2 separate regions of the Homo sapiens genome follow, and region 2 is linked to region 1. The links are contacts of gene promoters, found by promoter capture Hi-C in human tissues and cell types (Jung and others, 2019). All regions are on one chromosome and are shown on one strand. The core of a region is centred on a gene start or on the middle of the fragment in contact, and the rest is flanking DNA. Distances in the headings are between cores, read along the strand shown.

What was found. Contacts are between HindIII fragments. The study calls those that stand out against the background at their distance.
Region 2: a fragment that was not itself captured here is called in contact with the fragment with the promoter of RTP1 in region 1 in 1 of the 25 tissues and cell types used here (H1 embryonic stem cells).

Annotation. Positions count from the first base shown.
Region 1 is chr3:187,194,192-187,202,061 of GRCh38, reverse strand. RTP1 (receptor transporter protein 1) reads right to left here and starts at 4,576. Exons shown (of 2, transcript NM_153708.3): 1 at 4,275-4,576; 2 at 600-2,511. The coding sequence starts at 4,546. The coding sequence ends at 1,992. LOC101929106 (a long non-coding RNA gene) reads left to right here. Exons shown (of 5, transcript NR_110052.1): 3 at 1,949-2,834; 4 at 3,360-3,535; 5 at 4,032-4,972. The HindIII fragment of the contact is 12,407 bases long and covers 1-6,755 here.
Region 2 is chr3:187,710,529-187,718,398 of GRCh38, reverse strand. It overlaps LOC100131635 (hCG1645011-like), which reads right to left. Exons shown (of 3, transcript NR_034062.1): 2 at 2,659-2,777. It also overlaps a transcript of RTP2 not described here. Among named protein-coding and RNA genes, the nearest start is that of RTP2, 12 kb to the right of the region's middle. The HindIII fragment of the contact is 4,270 bases long and covers 583-4,852 here.

The DNA of each region.
Region 1 (7,870 bases), core at 3,327-5,826:
TTTATTCTAATTCAGATGCTCAGGTCCCACTTCCCCCAAATTTTGATCCCATTGGTCTGGGGTAGAGGCTAAGTACTTATATTTCTTTAAAATCTCCCCAGAATTTCTGAAGTACAGCCAGGGCTGAAAACTTCTGTAGCAAGCAGAGATGTCTGAGAAACCAGAGAGCACCCCCTATATTCCGCTGCACCCACAGTATTCATTTCTTCCTCTAGTCTGCATATTCTGAACACCTACTGTCTAGCAAGTAAATCAGGACTTGCTAGATAGCAGGTGTTCAGGATATGCGGACTAGATGAAGAAATAAATACTCTGTGAATGAAGTAAAGGAAGCCATCGCTGCTTACTTGAATTCGAGCCAGGATAGGAGTAAAACTGACCTTATGCTGATCCCCTGAATGACTGACTTCCATCCCTCCTGACTGTGGACGAGACTGGCCAAAAACTGGAGCTAGATAGAGCCTTATGTGGCAGTGGGGTCAGGGGGCAGAAGGGAGAAAAGGGGAGACAGGGTGGCGGGATGGAGGGGACCAATAGCTCATTACAGATCTGGGACAGTGGGGGAATCTCAAACACACATTAATGACTACTAAGCCTTATGGAAGATATCCTGTCTTTATTAAAGTGTCCCATCTTTATATAAGTGACCCCCTTCCTCCATCACTACAGATGATGGTGACTTTCTATTAAAGAGGAGAGTAGTCAAGTTTTTAACAGAGGTGGGGTAAATGAGGCCCCTCAAAAGTGCAGCTTGCTGCCTGTCCCCACCAATTCCATTCCAGACCCCCCACTGTCAGAAAGTGTCTCCTCCCATTTCAAGCCATATCACATCTCATTTTAGAGCCTTGTAAGGTTCTCCCACATATCTGTGCACTTCCCCATGGACAAAGCATTTTACATCTTTAACGCCCTCTCTCTTGCTGAAGATACCCCATCCCTGTGGCTTTAGGGGGACAGCTGATCTTTGGCAAGAGGCCTCATGCTTGGCCAATGTGAGAAAGCCATTCAACTATAATTTCAGCAAAGAACCCAGGAGGCCAGGCCCCTGCTCCTGAATTCTGGCCATCAGCACTGCTGAGAATCTGCTAGACTTGGTCCCCGAACTCTGAAGACCCTCCATTATAATGCCTCCCAGAGATTTTGTGCTTTGCTTCTAAAACTCTGTCTTCTGAACCTCCCCTAAATTCTCTGCCAGTTAATACGCAGTGGGTGAGAAGCCTAACTCTATGAGACCCCACCCCAACCACCATCTTTCAGGCAGGCAGACCCCAGAATCTGCCCTGAGTGGAAAGAAGCTGGAATCTGAGAAACAAAAAAAAGAGACCCTGTGTACCTGGCAGCAAAGGAACAGCCTGATCTCCCACCTCTTGCACTTCAAGGGAAACCTCTGCTGCGTGTGTGAAGGCAGAATCACGGATGAGGCTCACAGGGTGGGCAAAGAAGCTAATTTAAGGCTGCAGCTAGAGAAAGTGGGAGATCATGAGGGGCAGGGGTGAGGGACTAATAAGAGCAAGGTCGAGCTCATTACTGTGGAAAGCCCTTTTGAGATCACCCAGTCCTCTAATTTTCAAACTTTTTAAAAGTAGTTAAACTTTTTTTTTTTTTTTTTTTGGTACAAAAATCTTAAATGGAACCCTATCTAAAGTAAAGCTGTTCTGATCGAAGCAAGAGGAGGAGGTAGGAGTTGGAGGATGGGTGTTTAGATCAGGAGTTGGAGACACCCACTAGCTTAGCCTACTTTCCAAATCCAAAAGTCCCTGAGGCACCTACGCAGAACTTTGGGGTCCTGGGTTTCACTATGATAAACCAATGATCTTGCCCAAACCCTGAGTTTTATAGATGGAAAAACTGTATAATTTGTCCAAGATCCCCACTGAGTCAGTGACATCACCAGCGCTAGAAGTTTACACTATTCTCAACCCACGTCTCTCCTCTACCCTCGCATCAGCTAACTGGCACCCTCGACAGGCTCTGGGCCCAACCACGGAATCTTATACGGAGCTACGGAAAGAGAACTGCAGGTAGATGATCAGCAGCAGGACCGTGGCCCAAAACAAGCACCAGGGGATAGAGCAGAAGTTCCAGCCTGAGCCCGTCTGGTCCTGCGACTTGGTGGGGCTGGGCGCCCGGGAGAAGGTGTAGGTGGTCGCCTCCTCCTCCAGCAGCTTCTCGCTGGGCTTCCAGTGCACGATGCCCTCCTGGCAGGCCTCGCAGAACTCTCCGCGGTGCCGCCGGTTGTCCTGGCGGCTGGCCACGTGGATGCGGTACTGGCCGCCACGCTCGCCGTAGCACTGCTCGCGCAGGCTGGTGATGAGGTTGTCCACCAGGCCCTCGATGTTCTCCTCCAGCATGCTGGACTCGTCCAGCCGCGCCGTGCCGCACTCATAGCACAGCTGCTTGAAGACGCGCATGCGCACCGAGCCCGCCCGCTGGGCGCGGTCCAGGAACATGTGGAAGAGGATGACCACGTAGGGCGACTGCCAGGTGTGCCAGCACCAGGAGCAGTGGAACCTGCGGAGACGGGAGGAGAGGGAGGAATAGAAGACGGGCGGAGGTGGTGGAAACAGCCCTAGGAATGGCGTGAGGGGACGTGGAGGCTAAGCAGAGCCTGGAGGTGGAGGAAGTGTGTTGCCGGCGCCCTGGGTTCATTAGCTTTCCCCAGGAAGCCACTCAGCCTTGCAAGTGCCCCTAGGACTACAGCAGGTTCCTCAGGATGTCACCGGGCATCCAGCAGTGCTCTACCTCCTCAGTGCTTTCCAGAGGCCTAACTCCCACCACCCCAGCATTGGGCGTCATTCTTATTCCTCATGGGCAAAATGCGCTTGGTGCACTAGGTGAGTCCTTCCTTCTCACACCAGATAAGAAACACATAATCCATCTGCACATTTCTATCTGTTAACACTGACTGTGAACAGGCTAGATCCAAATTAGGAGAAAATGACACCATTACTAGCTATCAACGTCCAGGCCAGTGTCAGAGTTAATGCATCACAAGGCCTGGAGGTGGAGGCAGTCTGTGCCCAGATCCCCAAGGCCTGTAGTCTCCCAGGCCTGACTGGGGCCAGCTGGGGATTACAGGTCCCCAGCCAGGTCTGGGGCAGCCACAAGCCCTCCCCACTCAGCCCCCACAGCCTTCCAGGTCTTCAAGAAGCTCCTGATCCTGCCTGTAAGTGTCCAGCCCTTGACACCCCTCCTGTCAGCCAGTTTAGGAGCTTCACATTTTCATTCTCTTCTTGTTCACACATCTTTTGGGGACTGTTTCCTCTCTCAGACCAGACTACAAAACCTGGATTGAAAAATGTCGTAACTAGAGGGACCTGGAAATCACCTAATTAATGTTTTCTTTTATGCTGAGACAGAGTGAGAGAGGCATCCATGTACACACAGCTAGAGGCAGAACCGGCGCCCAGCACGTAACAGGTGCCCAGTAATGTTTCCTGAATTGAAGTGAATTGGCTGAACCAGGGCAAGCAGGAAGGCCTTGCTTCTGACTTCCAGGCTGCACCACTCAGCCTCCCCATCTTATGTCTCAAAGGTAAGCCCCTACACTCTGGACCCATGAACAAGAGTGCTAGAAATTCATCTCAGATAGTTTTTACATACTAATCACCTAGAACTCTTCTTGAAATCAGATTCTGATTCAGATCTAAAAGGGGCCCAAGATTCTGCTTTCTTAACAAATTCCAGGTGATGCCGATCCTGCTGCTCTGTGGACCACAGGCTAACCTCTCACTGTGCAAAAGGAGAAAGCCAGGTCCAAGAAGAAAATCGAGTTCCTCAACAGCCATGGAGCCAATGATAGAGCCAGTTTCTGGCACATCTCATGTATTCAATATTTTAAGTGAAATTAAGTTGAGTTAAATAGATTTAAACCGGTCCCAGGACCAGAGCACGGACGTCTCGACCCCCAGTGGGCCTCAAACCCTTCTTCTCTGGTTTTAAACTACTTTTTAAGAGACTGTTAAAATAGAAAATATGTAAAATGTCAGTGTGTAGGACTCATACGTATATTCTATGTCTTTATTTTCCAGACGGAAAAATTGTGACTCAGAGAGGAAGAGTAACACAGGTGATCAGTAGAAGAGCTGAAATCCAACTCAAGTGTCGTAGTTCCCAGTTAGGGACTCTTTCTCTGACTTCCAGTCTACGCCAGCCTAATAGTGAGATTGAAGCTAAACACTTGGGTTCTACGTAATCTTCCTCTCCTTGGAAGGTGCCCCAGAGCTAGGGACCTAGAGGCGGCCTGCAGGGATCCACCTTCCTGGGCTACTCACCTGCCTGAAGCATGCAATTCCAGGTACTGCTTCCAACCAGGGCTCAGCACATTGTGCTTGAGGTTGGGGTCTATGATGAGGTCCCAGCTGTCAGCCGGCTTTGCCTCCTCCATCTTCTCATAGAAGACTTTCTTCCACTCATCTGTGGTCACGCTTTTACACATGGTCTCGTCAGTAGTGAGGGAAGGCAATTTCCACCTTAGTGAGAACACGGAGAGTGAGGGTAGGTGCAGGGCAGGGCAGCGCAGTCTCCACGGTCTAAAAATCCTCATCGACAAGACCAGGAGGAAGCAGGACCCAGCTCCCTCCTTTGTCCGCAGTGGAACCTGTTTCCACGGCAACCAGGCAGGTTGCCAGAAGACAGAGCTTGGGGAGGAGGGAGTCTCTGAAGAGGTGTTTCAAGGCCCTGAACTGAGATTGCAGAGGCAGAGTTTGTGGGTCTAAATGATCCAAGACAGAGTGGGGGACCTGACCAGAGATTGAGCTTCAGACCATCTCACCCTGGCCTGGAAAGAGTATGGGGAGGTGAGGACTGGGAACTGGCTCAGTTTCACCTTGCCGTCCCCTGGAGGCATCATCAGCATCTGGCTGCTACGGTAACCATGATGCCTTAGGCAGCCAAGGAGAAATGAGGGATGGGGAGATGTAAATTTGTTAGTAGATGGAGCAATAATAATAAACTCTCTCTCGGCTTCCCCAGCCATCTTGTGACCAGCACTTTGCCATTTTCAAAACACAATTGGAGGTCTCTTAAGTTATGATTACTATTGCTGCAGTACAGATCAGGAGCCTAGGACTCACCTAGCCTATAAATGGCGGAGCCTGTATACAAATTCAAGCTGTTGACCCCAGACCGGTTCATTAATTCATTCATTTCAAACATATCCGAGCATGTGGGTAGGGTTTGCAGACATGTGCCAAGCTCTATGTCAGTGCTTGTAGCTGACTGTGTACTGAATAACTGTGCAATAGGATCCATGCTGCAATGGCCTTGTGCAAGAACAGCCACCTGTGCACAAAGGTAGGAGCATTGCATCAGCCAGGCAGGAGCAGACAAGATTATTTCCAAGCTGATTATAGAAGCGCAGAAGAGGAGCACCACCCACAGGCAAAACAGCCTTTACTATACATGCCTCTGCTGCTATTTTTAATAAATTATTTTTCCTTTTAAAAAATCATATGGGTTTATTCTAGAAAAAATACAAAATATAGATGAAAGAAAAGAGAAGTAAGACTCTTCCATAAAACCCCACCCGAGATGACTACTGTTAACATTACGATATGTACATCCCGCTTACCATTTTTCTGTACATGTACAAGTGTATGTGTGTGTATATACACACACATTCTGTACACCACATACATTCTATATACCACATTGTGACATTTTCAAAAAATAATACGTCATGAATATTTTTCTAGGTCATATTCCGTAGTAGTACATTATGGGCTACCTATATTCTGTTATATGGATAGGCATAATTTATTTAGCCAATCCTGTCTTTTAGGGCATTTTGGTTTTATTTCAGTTTCTCACATTACACTCTTCCCATCTATTTGTATAAACTTGTTGACGAAGCTCATCGCATGCATTAGAAACAACACTTCCTACAATTGGAAAACACGTCTCTTGACTCCACTCTCTCCAAAAGCTTGGTGTGGCTAGCAGAATCTGAGCAGGCTCTTCAAACAGTATGAATTTTGGACAGCCAGCAGATCTTGAAGTTTAGTGATGAAAAAGAGGGACTTAAAATCACCCATCTGATACCAGAAACCATCTTCCAAGTGCTTCTCCTGCCGCTTCATGGATGTTTGATGCCTTGATTTACACTATTTTAACCTCAGTTTATTCATCTTCTCAGTGGGATAATAACAAAACAGTATCTGCTGTGATTAAAAGCAGGGGCTTTAGAATGGCTTGCCTGGTTGTGGTGTTGTTGTTGTTGTTGTTGTTGTTACAGAGTCTCGCTCTGTTGCCCAGGCTGGAGTGCAATGGCACAATCTCGACTCACTGCAACCTCCACCTCCCAAGTTCAAGTGATTCTCTTGCCTCAGCCTCCCAAGTAACAGGGATTACAGGCATGCGTCACCACACCTGGCTGATTTTGTATTTTCCGTAGAGATGGGATTTCACCATGTTGGCCAGGCTGGTCTCAAACTCCTGACCTCAGGTGATCTGCCTACCTTAGCATCCCCAAGTGCTGGGATTACAGGCATGAGTCACCGTGCCTGGCTGCTTTTACAAAAAAAAAAAAATTTCCATATAGACTCATAGGTAGCAATTCTAATGTATATAATCTGTATCTTTTCATCCTAGTAAAAAATACGTGTTAATGTTTTATGTGAATATAATTTTAATTTGCATAGTAACAGCAATCACCATATAGCACTTACTATATAGCAATCACTATACAGCACTTACCTGGTAAGTGCTTAGAAAGCATTGTTCTGGTGCTTTATAAATATTAATTTATTTCATTCAATAACAAACTTGACAGGTAGGTAACAGCAGCAGCAGCTCCATTTTACAGATATGTGAGCTAAAGTCTAGAGGTTAGATAACTTGCACAAGATTTAACAGCTAATAACTAGTTGAACTGGGACTTAAACCTATATGACTGTCTACAAAGCCCCAGCTTTAGCCATTGTGATGCTCAGCGTGGAATCTAGAACATAACATCTGCTAATTAAATGTGTGTTTCTTCATCACTCACGTGGCCGTTACAGACCCCAAGAATTGCAAATGAAGTTTATATCATTTCAGCAAATGGTTCACTGGGGCCCCCCCACACTGAGGCCACATCTCCCCAGAAGAGGGGTGAGTTGTACTTGACCCACCAGGCTCCCTGCTACTGCTGGGGATGCTGCCTCTACTGCCAAACTTAATGAAGCAATGGTGTCCACAGACCCCTGATACTCGGTATAAATATTTTAGAGCTGAGAGAGATATTTAGCTTGAAATCTTACCAAAGAAAATATGGTACAGAAAGTCATCTCTAGGCACAGCAACCCTGTAAAGCCTCAATCATTTGATGCCAGGCATCTTGGCTCAATGGAGAGAGCACTGAACTGGGAGTCAGGAGACACATAGCCCAGCTCTGCTCCTGGCTGACATTGTGACCTTGGGCAAGCCACTAATTTCCCTTGGCCTCAGTTTGTCCATCTGTTCAATGAAGAATTAGGGTAGATGACAAAGGTAAGCTCCCCTCTAACTTCAGTCATGTATGGTTTCAAACAGCTTTATACTTAGAAAACTGAATCCTGGGAGGGCAGGAGGTAGGATGGAGGCCACTGGTTGGAAGAGGGAAGCTTCTAAAGAGGCATGGCAGGTAATGCCTGGAGCCAGGCTCTGTTTCCTGGGGCCTGCTATATAGTTGACGATCTCTGGGGAGGTGCTTCTCTACTAGATTTGTACTGAACACAGCAAGAAGGACAGAAATTAAATATATCAAGCCACTGAACATTAACATTGGAAAACCCATTTTTTATGTAGAGACGGGGTCTTGCTGTGTTGCCCAGGCTGGTCCCAAACTCCTGGGCTCAAGCAAACCTCCTGCCTCCACCTCCCAAAGTGCTAAGATCACAGGCATGCGCCA
Region 2 (7,870 bases), core at 1,468-3,967, 520 kb before region 1:
ACATTAACGGCAAAGCTCCAGAATGAGGTCTGCAGAACTAGGGTGACCTTTCAGGATCTAGTTCTATGAAGCTTATAATTGTGTGGGGGTTTCTAGTCTTAGATTTCTAGGATAATCCATCCCTCTTATAACCACTGTATAATGGGGTCACTGCCTTCATTTCTACACCACTGCCGTTACTTGGACTGGCCTGTATGAGTCTATTTCCTGGAACCAAAGGAGCATAATTTACACACAGATAGCCATGCTTCTGGGGAGTCTGCCATTAGAAGGACCCTTACGCTTCACAGATAGCCATGCTTCTGGGGAGTCTGCCATTAGAAGGACCCTTACGCTTCACAGATAGCCACGCTTCTGGGGAGTTTGCCATTAGAAGGACCCTTACACTTCTTTGACTAGGCCCAAGCTTCTCTATAGTGGAGGCCAAGGCATGCTGTAATCCCTCCAAGGTAAGAAACAAAATGTTATTTACCCAAAATACTGTACCCAGTTGGAAAGTGAATGTTCCTCCCATCCCAGAGCAGAGATAGGAAGCTTCAAAACAGTACACAGAAGCCCAGCCCTACCATGGGAAGGCTGCCCATTACATGAAATATAGCATCCAGGGCCTGCCTCCAAAGAAGAGAAAGCTTCAGCACTCACTAAGAAAGTGGCCTTCTCTCATTCCCTATGACTCATGGGAGAAAAAAAGAAAAAAGATTAACACAAAAAAGTGGCCTTCTAGAAAGACAGATGCCCAGGCAGGAGGACTTTGGAGTCTAGGAAGGAGACCTAGTGGGGTTTACAGCCCCTGGGTACTACATTGCTCCCAAACGTTTGGGGTCTAGCCCCTTATTAAATGAGGCTGACTCATTTAACCCCAGATGACAGCTGCTCAACATATCTAAAAGATGAGTTTCCTGGGTCTTTCTTTCCCTTTAGGACCCCAAGAAGGCAGGTTGGTTATGTAAATACATATGGAGTTGGGATCACAGAATATTGTAACTGGAGAGAGCTTAGTGATAATAATTCTTCCATAGGCAAGGAAACCAGGCCTGAAAAGAAAGGTGACATGCTTAAGGTCACACCAAGAATTCTTATCAAACATCACCTGACTCCCAGTGAGGTTTGTAACGTGGTTCCAGCCCTCAAAGGTTCGTAGTCAAAATCACAAAACAAAACATGGACATATATGGAAGGAAAATTACAAGGAAACACCAAAATATATAAAACTATGGCTAATAAATTATGTTCCTCAATGAAAACATATAGGCACAGGGAGGGAAACATCACACACTGGGGCCTGTCGGGAGCTGGGGGCTAGGGGAGGGATAGCATTAGGAGAAATACCTAATGTAGATGATAGGTTGGTGGGTGCAGCAAACCACCATGGCACATGTATACCCATATAACAAAGCTGCTCATTCTGCATATGTATCCCAGAACTTAAAGTATACTAAAAAACTGATGTTCCTATGGATTCTGCATATCTTGAGAAGGGGCATGTTCAGAATGGCAAATTGTCCATTCACGGCAGTACAAGGTGGACAGCCATGTTGAGCTGGTGGCCCATGGAGAGGCTCTCTCAGGGTTCTCGTGTGTCTCCCATTTGTTCTGTGGAACTTCAGTGCCTCCTTCCATCTGGACAGAGCTGTCCTTTGATGTCACCAGTAGGAGTCACCTCTAGCGGTGTAATTAGTTTGCCAAGGCTGCTGAAACAAAGTACCACCAGCTGAAATGGCTTAAACCATAGAATGTTATTGCCTCATGGTTCTGAAGGCTGGAAGTCCGAGATCAAGGTGTTGGCACTGTTGGTTTCTTTTGAGGGCTGTAAGGAAGAATCTGTTCCAGCCTTCTCTCCTACCTTCTGGTCATTTCCTGGCAATCTGGCACTCTTTGGCTGGTAGAAGCATCACCTCAATCTTTTCATCTTCACATGGTGTTTCTGTGTTTGTGTCTCTGTATCCAAAGTTCTTCCCTTTTTATGAGGTCATCACTTGTGTTAGATTAAGGCCCACTCTAATGATCTCAACTTAACTAATTATATCTGCAACGACCCTATTTCCAAATAAGGTCACATTCTAAGGTACTAGAAGTTAGGACTTCAACGTATGAATTTTGTGGGGACATGATACAATTCAACAGAGGCTGTTCATGGGAAGAAAGATGAAGAAAAATGCTCTCAGAAAAGGCACCACCCTAGCTTCTCGTTTTCACTTTCTTCTCGCTGTCAAAGACTCAGGGAATTGAGATTTGGAGAGCCTTCTCATTGCCAGTAGGCTTTACACTCACGGTCTCAATTACCCTCACGACAACTCACTGAAGTGGGTTTGTCTTCCCTCTTTACAGATGAGGTGAATGGGGAACAAGAAGGTCATGGCACTCAGCTAAGATCAGGCAATACGTCTCTTTTTTCTTCTCTAGCTAGTTTTGTCTTTTATGTCACTGGTGGGTCTCTGTCCAAAAGAGCACGACAGGACAAAATAATTGTGCTCTGTGAACGACACACTTTGATCATGCAGATGGGAGAAAGCTGTAGATCTAGGTAGGTCTTTAAGAAATAGGAATCACCAAGAACTTACATACCAGGCCATCATGGGCTTGACAAAAACCTCAACAAGAACTGGAGACTATTATAGTTAATCATGTCTTGAATTATCATGGAGTATTTGAGCTTACCCCACTGATGGTCTCATCCAGCAGTTCTGTACCATAGGAAGATTTCAGACATTCTGCTTCTTGCTCTCCAGATGATTCTGACTTAGAACCAGTGGTGAGAATTCTGATCGAATCCAACTCTATCATAAAGGAAAGGAAGCCAAGTGACATTAAGCAAAGAAATTCTATAAGGACTAGGACACAGCTCCCCCAAGGCCTATGCCAGTATTAGTTCCTCGGAAATAATACTACCATGATTTCCTATTTCCAGAAACCTCAGTGCTGCCACTAAATGGTTACCTTCTTCATATACATTCATGTATCTGATTACTTCTTTGACAGAACCCTGGCGGGGGGAACCTTATATCAATGAACAGGAATTATAAAGAGGAAGAACTCAGCTTGATAGAATAAAGGATTTCCTGTGTCTAAAGATGGAACGGGCTTTGGGTGAGCATCTGAACTCATCACTGAAGGTGATTTAAGCTTAAGATGTGTGGTGAGTTGGCAGCAATCTTGGCTTGCAGGGAGGGTTGGATTAAATGACTCTAAGGTCCCTTTCAAACTTGAGATTACACAAGATCCTACCCCATTTAGAAACTGATTTTAATCATGGCGAGGGATTCAGAGTAAGTGTTTCCTCCTAGGAGTCTCAGGACAGCAGGGCCATGGAAGTCTGGGGGCCATTTGCGGAGGGTTGTAACCTGTAACCTGTAACCTGTAACCTGAATTGCCCTGCACTCCAGGGACCAAGTTGTGTCTTTCTTTGTTTTTTGTTTGTTTGTGTTTTTTTTTTCCTAACGTACAGAGGCTTACAGTTTCATACATATCATTTTCTAATAGTGAGGCTATAATCTATCTCCCATCATTTCTACCTGGTGCACCCTATTCTTCAGTCACATGGAGAAGCTCACCATTTCCCAAACCTGTGAGGCTTCAGTGTCTTTGCAAACACCAAGACCCCTGCCTAGCAAGTCTCTTTTCTCCATTTACCCTCCCTTCAGTCCCTCTCTTCTTCCAGCCTGTGAATTTCTTCAGCCTGAACAACTGTGAGCGTCTGTACAGGTTTGTTGAGTGACGGAGCAAAGGAGTGAGTGCATGATTAAGGGTTCCTACTGGTCCCTGCTTTCTCTGAGGCTGTTCTACTGGTGCATTCTAGCAAATAGCCACAAGGTGGCAGGGTAGACCAAGCAGTGAAGGCTGTAGGTGCCACTTTTTCTGGCTCCAGGGAAGCAGGAAGGTATAAATGGGGCCAGTGCTATTTTTTGAGTTGGTCTCCTATGGCTTTGTACCTATTCTCTTTCTAAATCCTCTTCGTCATCTCAGCAGAGCCATTTAACAGAACTGACTGAGGGGCTCTGGCCCCCAAATCTTTCTTTCGGAGATCTACTTGAATGTGTGTAAAGTTCCACTCTGAATCATTCCTTTGGGGATCAGGAATTTCCAGCTCTTCTCGAAAAGGTAAGGGGTTATATCTCAATTCTTGGGCAAAAGAGGCCAATTCCTAGTAGAACTGTGGAGAGAGGCAGGGGTTTATGATATGACACTAATCTAGTGTCTAGTATAACAAACTTTACAAATCACAAAAGCCTTTCATCTCCAAGGGTTCACTTAATCCTCACCACAATCTCGCCAGTTAAGGAAGCAAGATATCCCATTTGGCAAGTGACAAAACTGAGGTTCGGAGAGGAGAGCCTAAGAACACCTGGCTAGCGGGTGAGGGCCGAGAACAGACCATTTGCCTTCTGACTTGCTGTCAGACACTCAGCTAGCACAGGCAGTAACTTTGTGTGTCAGTGGTTGAATTAACAAAAAGGTACACCTATCTTTGTGAGGCAGGAGAATAGGGTCTGGAGACAGAGAACCTAAGGCCAATTTGCACTGGTTTCCTAGAACTGAATAAAAAGGAAAACCCCATCTCTCCACACCCAAGTAACAAAAGGATCCGAGGCTACTCCCTTTGCAACTTGCTCCCCCCACCCCTCCTGCTTTTCTGCCTTGCAAATTAAAAATGAAAGTACCTCTGATTGGTCCCCTCCTGCAACCAATCAGACTGATTGTAGGCCTAGTCTTCACTTGCATAGGGTGTAACTTTGTAACTTCATGTTAGCCTCTGATTGGTCACCTTCCATGTCCAATCAGATTGGTTGTGAGCCACTACTTCATTTACATAGGGTGTGAACCAAGTAATCAATGGGAAGCCTCTAGAGGGTATCTAAAGCCCAGAAGATTCTGTAACCAGCGTTCTTGGGGTGCTTGCTCAAGCCCACTGCCAGTCTGTGGAGTATACTTTCGTTTCAATAAATCTATGCTCTCTTTGCTTTATTCTTTCATAGCTTTGTTTGTGCATTTTGTCCAATTCTTTGTTCAAAATGCCAAGAACCTGGACACCTTCCACTGGTAACATTTGTGTACCCTTGAGCACAGCTTTTTCAACTCACAACAGTGTAAGGAGAAAATTTAGGCTTTTAGGGTTGGTATTCTCTTAGGGTCAAAATTGTAAATTCTGGGAGTAGACAGAGAGGAAGCCACTGGGACATGCCATGGCGCCCACCACCTGCATCACAGTGTAGGCCCGTGTCCCTGGACGGCTGGTGCCTAGGCTGTGGGCTGGGTACATCTCAATCTCCTCCCTGCTCCCCTTCAGTGCTGAGGGCCTGAGGAGGTGCCCCTTAAGCACTGGTCTCCTGATTACACTCAATGACTCTGGGTGGTTTTGGGTGGGAGACAGCATCAAATCCCTGCTGTCCTGGGCCCTGCCACAGTGAGACCCAGAGCAAACAGCTTTCGCCTTGATTGAAGACCAGGCTCTGCTGTTGACCAGCTACTGGCCTTGGTCAGGAAACTTACCGTCCCTCAGCCCCAGCTTCTGATTGCAAATGCAAAGACTGTATAGGATAATCTTCAGGACCCCTTTTGGAAACAGTGACAAGGACTTTTCTGGTCAAAGTAACTGAGTGATGGAGGTAGGAGATTGCTCTCACTAGGGGTGTTCTGGGAATATAAACCATTCGTTGAGACCGCAGAGTTCTAATTCCTCGGGTCCAGCCCTTTCTCATCTATTGTTCCCAAGTTTTCCTGCATCCAGGAGACGAACATGCATGGACTCAGGACTTAGAGTTTTCTTATTCATGCCTCCTGATATTTTCACAATTCAAAAGGGGCTAACAAAAAGACACTAGTTATCAGAAATTCTAAGCCATTTTTCAGCTCACAAGGGGCTCAAAGTTCCTCTACATGTAACAATATGGAACTTTGCTGAGACACACTTTGTCTTTTTAAAAATAGTATCTATTGTTCTGAATTTAATTTCAAAGTTAAAATATGTTAAATATACATAAAAACTTGAAAAACAGCTATGACAAAACATAATAAATAACATTTATTAGACATTCACCATATACTAGGAGCATTTAAAAGTTTTTTAAATTTTTAAATAATTATGGACTCACAAAAAGTTACAAAAAATAGTGCAGAGAGGTCCTGTGTACCCTTCTGCAAGTTTCCCTCAATGGTAAGGTCTTACCTAACGATAGCACAATATCCAAGCCAGGAAGTTGACTCAGTGGGTATAATCCACAGACCTTATTCAGACTTACATCGTTTTACATGCACTCGTGTGTATGTGTATGTGCGTATGTGTGTGTGTGTGTTTCTATGCAATTTTGTTGTATGTGTAGATTCACATGGCCACCACCACAACCAAGATATACAGCAGTTCCATCATCTCGAAGACCATTTGTGCTACCCTTTTATCGTCATCCTGTTTCCCTCCCTTCATCTCTAACCTCTGGCAACCGCTGATCTGTTCTCCACCTCTATAATTTTGTCTTTTTGAGAATGTTCTATAAATGGAATATATAAGTAGAAAAATAATATTAAATAACATTTACTGAGCACTCACTATGTGCCAAGAACTGTTTTTGGTTCTGTGCAAGTATAAGCTTATTTGATCCTCTTCGGAACCCACTGTAATCATCTCTTTTATTATTCTTACTTTACAGATGTGGAAACTGAGATTATTACCCAATTTTATGCAGCAAGTCACTGGCAGAGCTGAGAGGAAAATCAAGATCTGGCTCTAGACTCTGAAGTTGTAATTATCATATTATCTCTCTAAATTGAGTCAGCATAAATGTTTAAGAATTAAATACAGAAAAGCATAATTAAGAAAGATCAACAGTAGCCTTAGAAAACTTCAATGGATTGGTGCCATACAGACCACATTCTCTAAGAACAGTACAATTAAGTTAGAAATCAACAATAAAAAGGGAACTGGAAAAATTCCACTTGTTTATATATTTTTAAAAAATTCCTTCAAAACAACTCATGGGTCAAACAAGGAAAGCTGAGAGTTTACTTCTAACCGGAGAGCAGTGGGTTCCCTAATGGCATAGTGCATGGTGCAGGTGTTGATTTCTTCAAGGCTGAAAACAAATAAAGGTAAGACTATCTCTGCCCCAGACTGAATCCATGAGGGCAGGGACCATGTTTCAGTCATGCCGACAGCCTCAGAGCCTCACCTGACAAGGTGTTAATAAATGCTTACTGAATGCATTTAAAAATAGACACCCCTGGACACCACCCATATTCCCTTAGATCCTAAAGCGCCAACAAAGCTGGAAGACTCTTTGAGCCATTGGAATCAAAAGCACACTGAAACCAAGACAGAGATGCATAGAAACAGCAGAAGGGGTGGCTATGCATATTAGGATCAGTGAGAGCACTTTGCTTTACATGGTGCCTTTAGACATCCAAAATCTCAGCAGAGAATGGGGCTTCAGAGGTCAGCACCTTTGAAATTTCTAATTCGGCACCTAGAAAATTGATGCTCAGGGTACTAAACTGATTTACCTAGGGTTATTACAAGTTTGAGATAAGAATCTAGGTCTCCTGACTCCCCATAAAGAGCTTTGTGCCAACAGAGTGGACCCTTGACATCGCCAGAGAATTTTTGCCTACACTTTCAGGAATCCTCAAGTCGAAAACCCAGAAATGTTTGCAAAGGTTTTCAGGCTTTTACTGAAATCCCATTTAGAGAGAATTATGGTGTATTAATCCGGGTTGTCCAGAGAAATGGAATTGATAAGTACTATATGTGGGGTGTGTATATGTGTTTGTGTGTGTGTATGTGTATTTGTATGGTTCTCCATATATTTAGGTAATATATACACACATATACACATATGTATATCATATACACACACATATATATATATATATGCACATATAC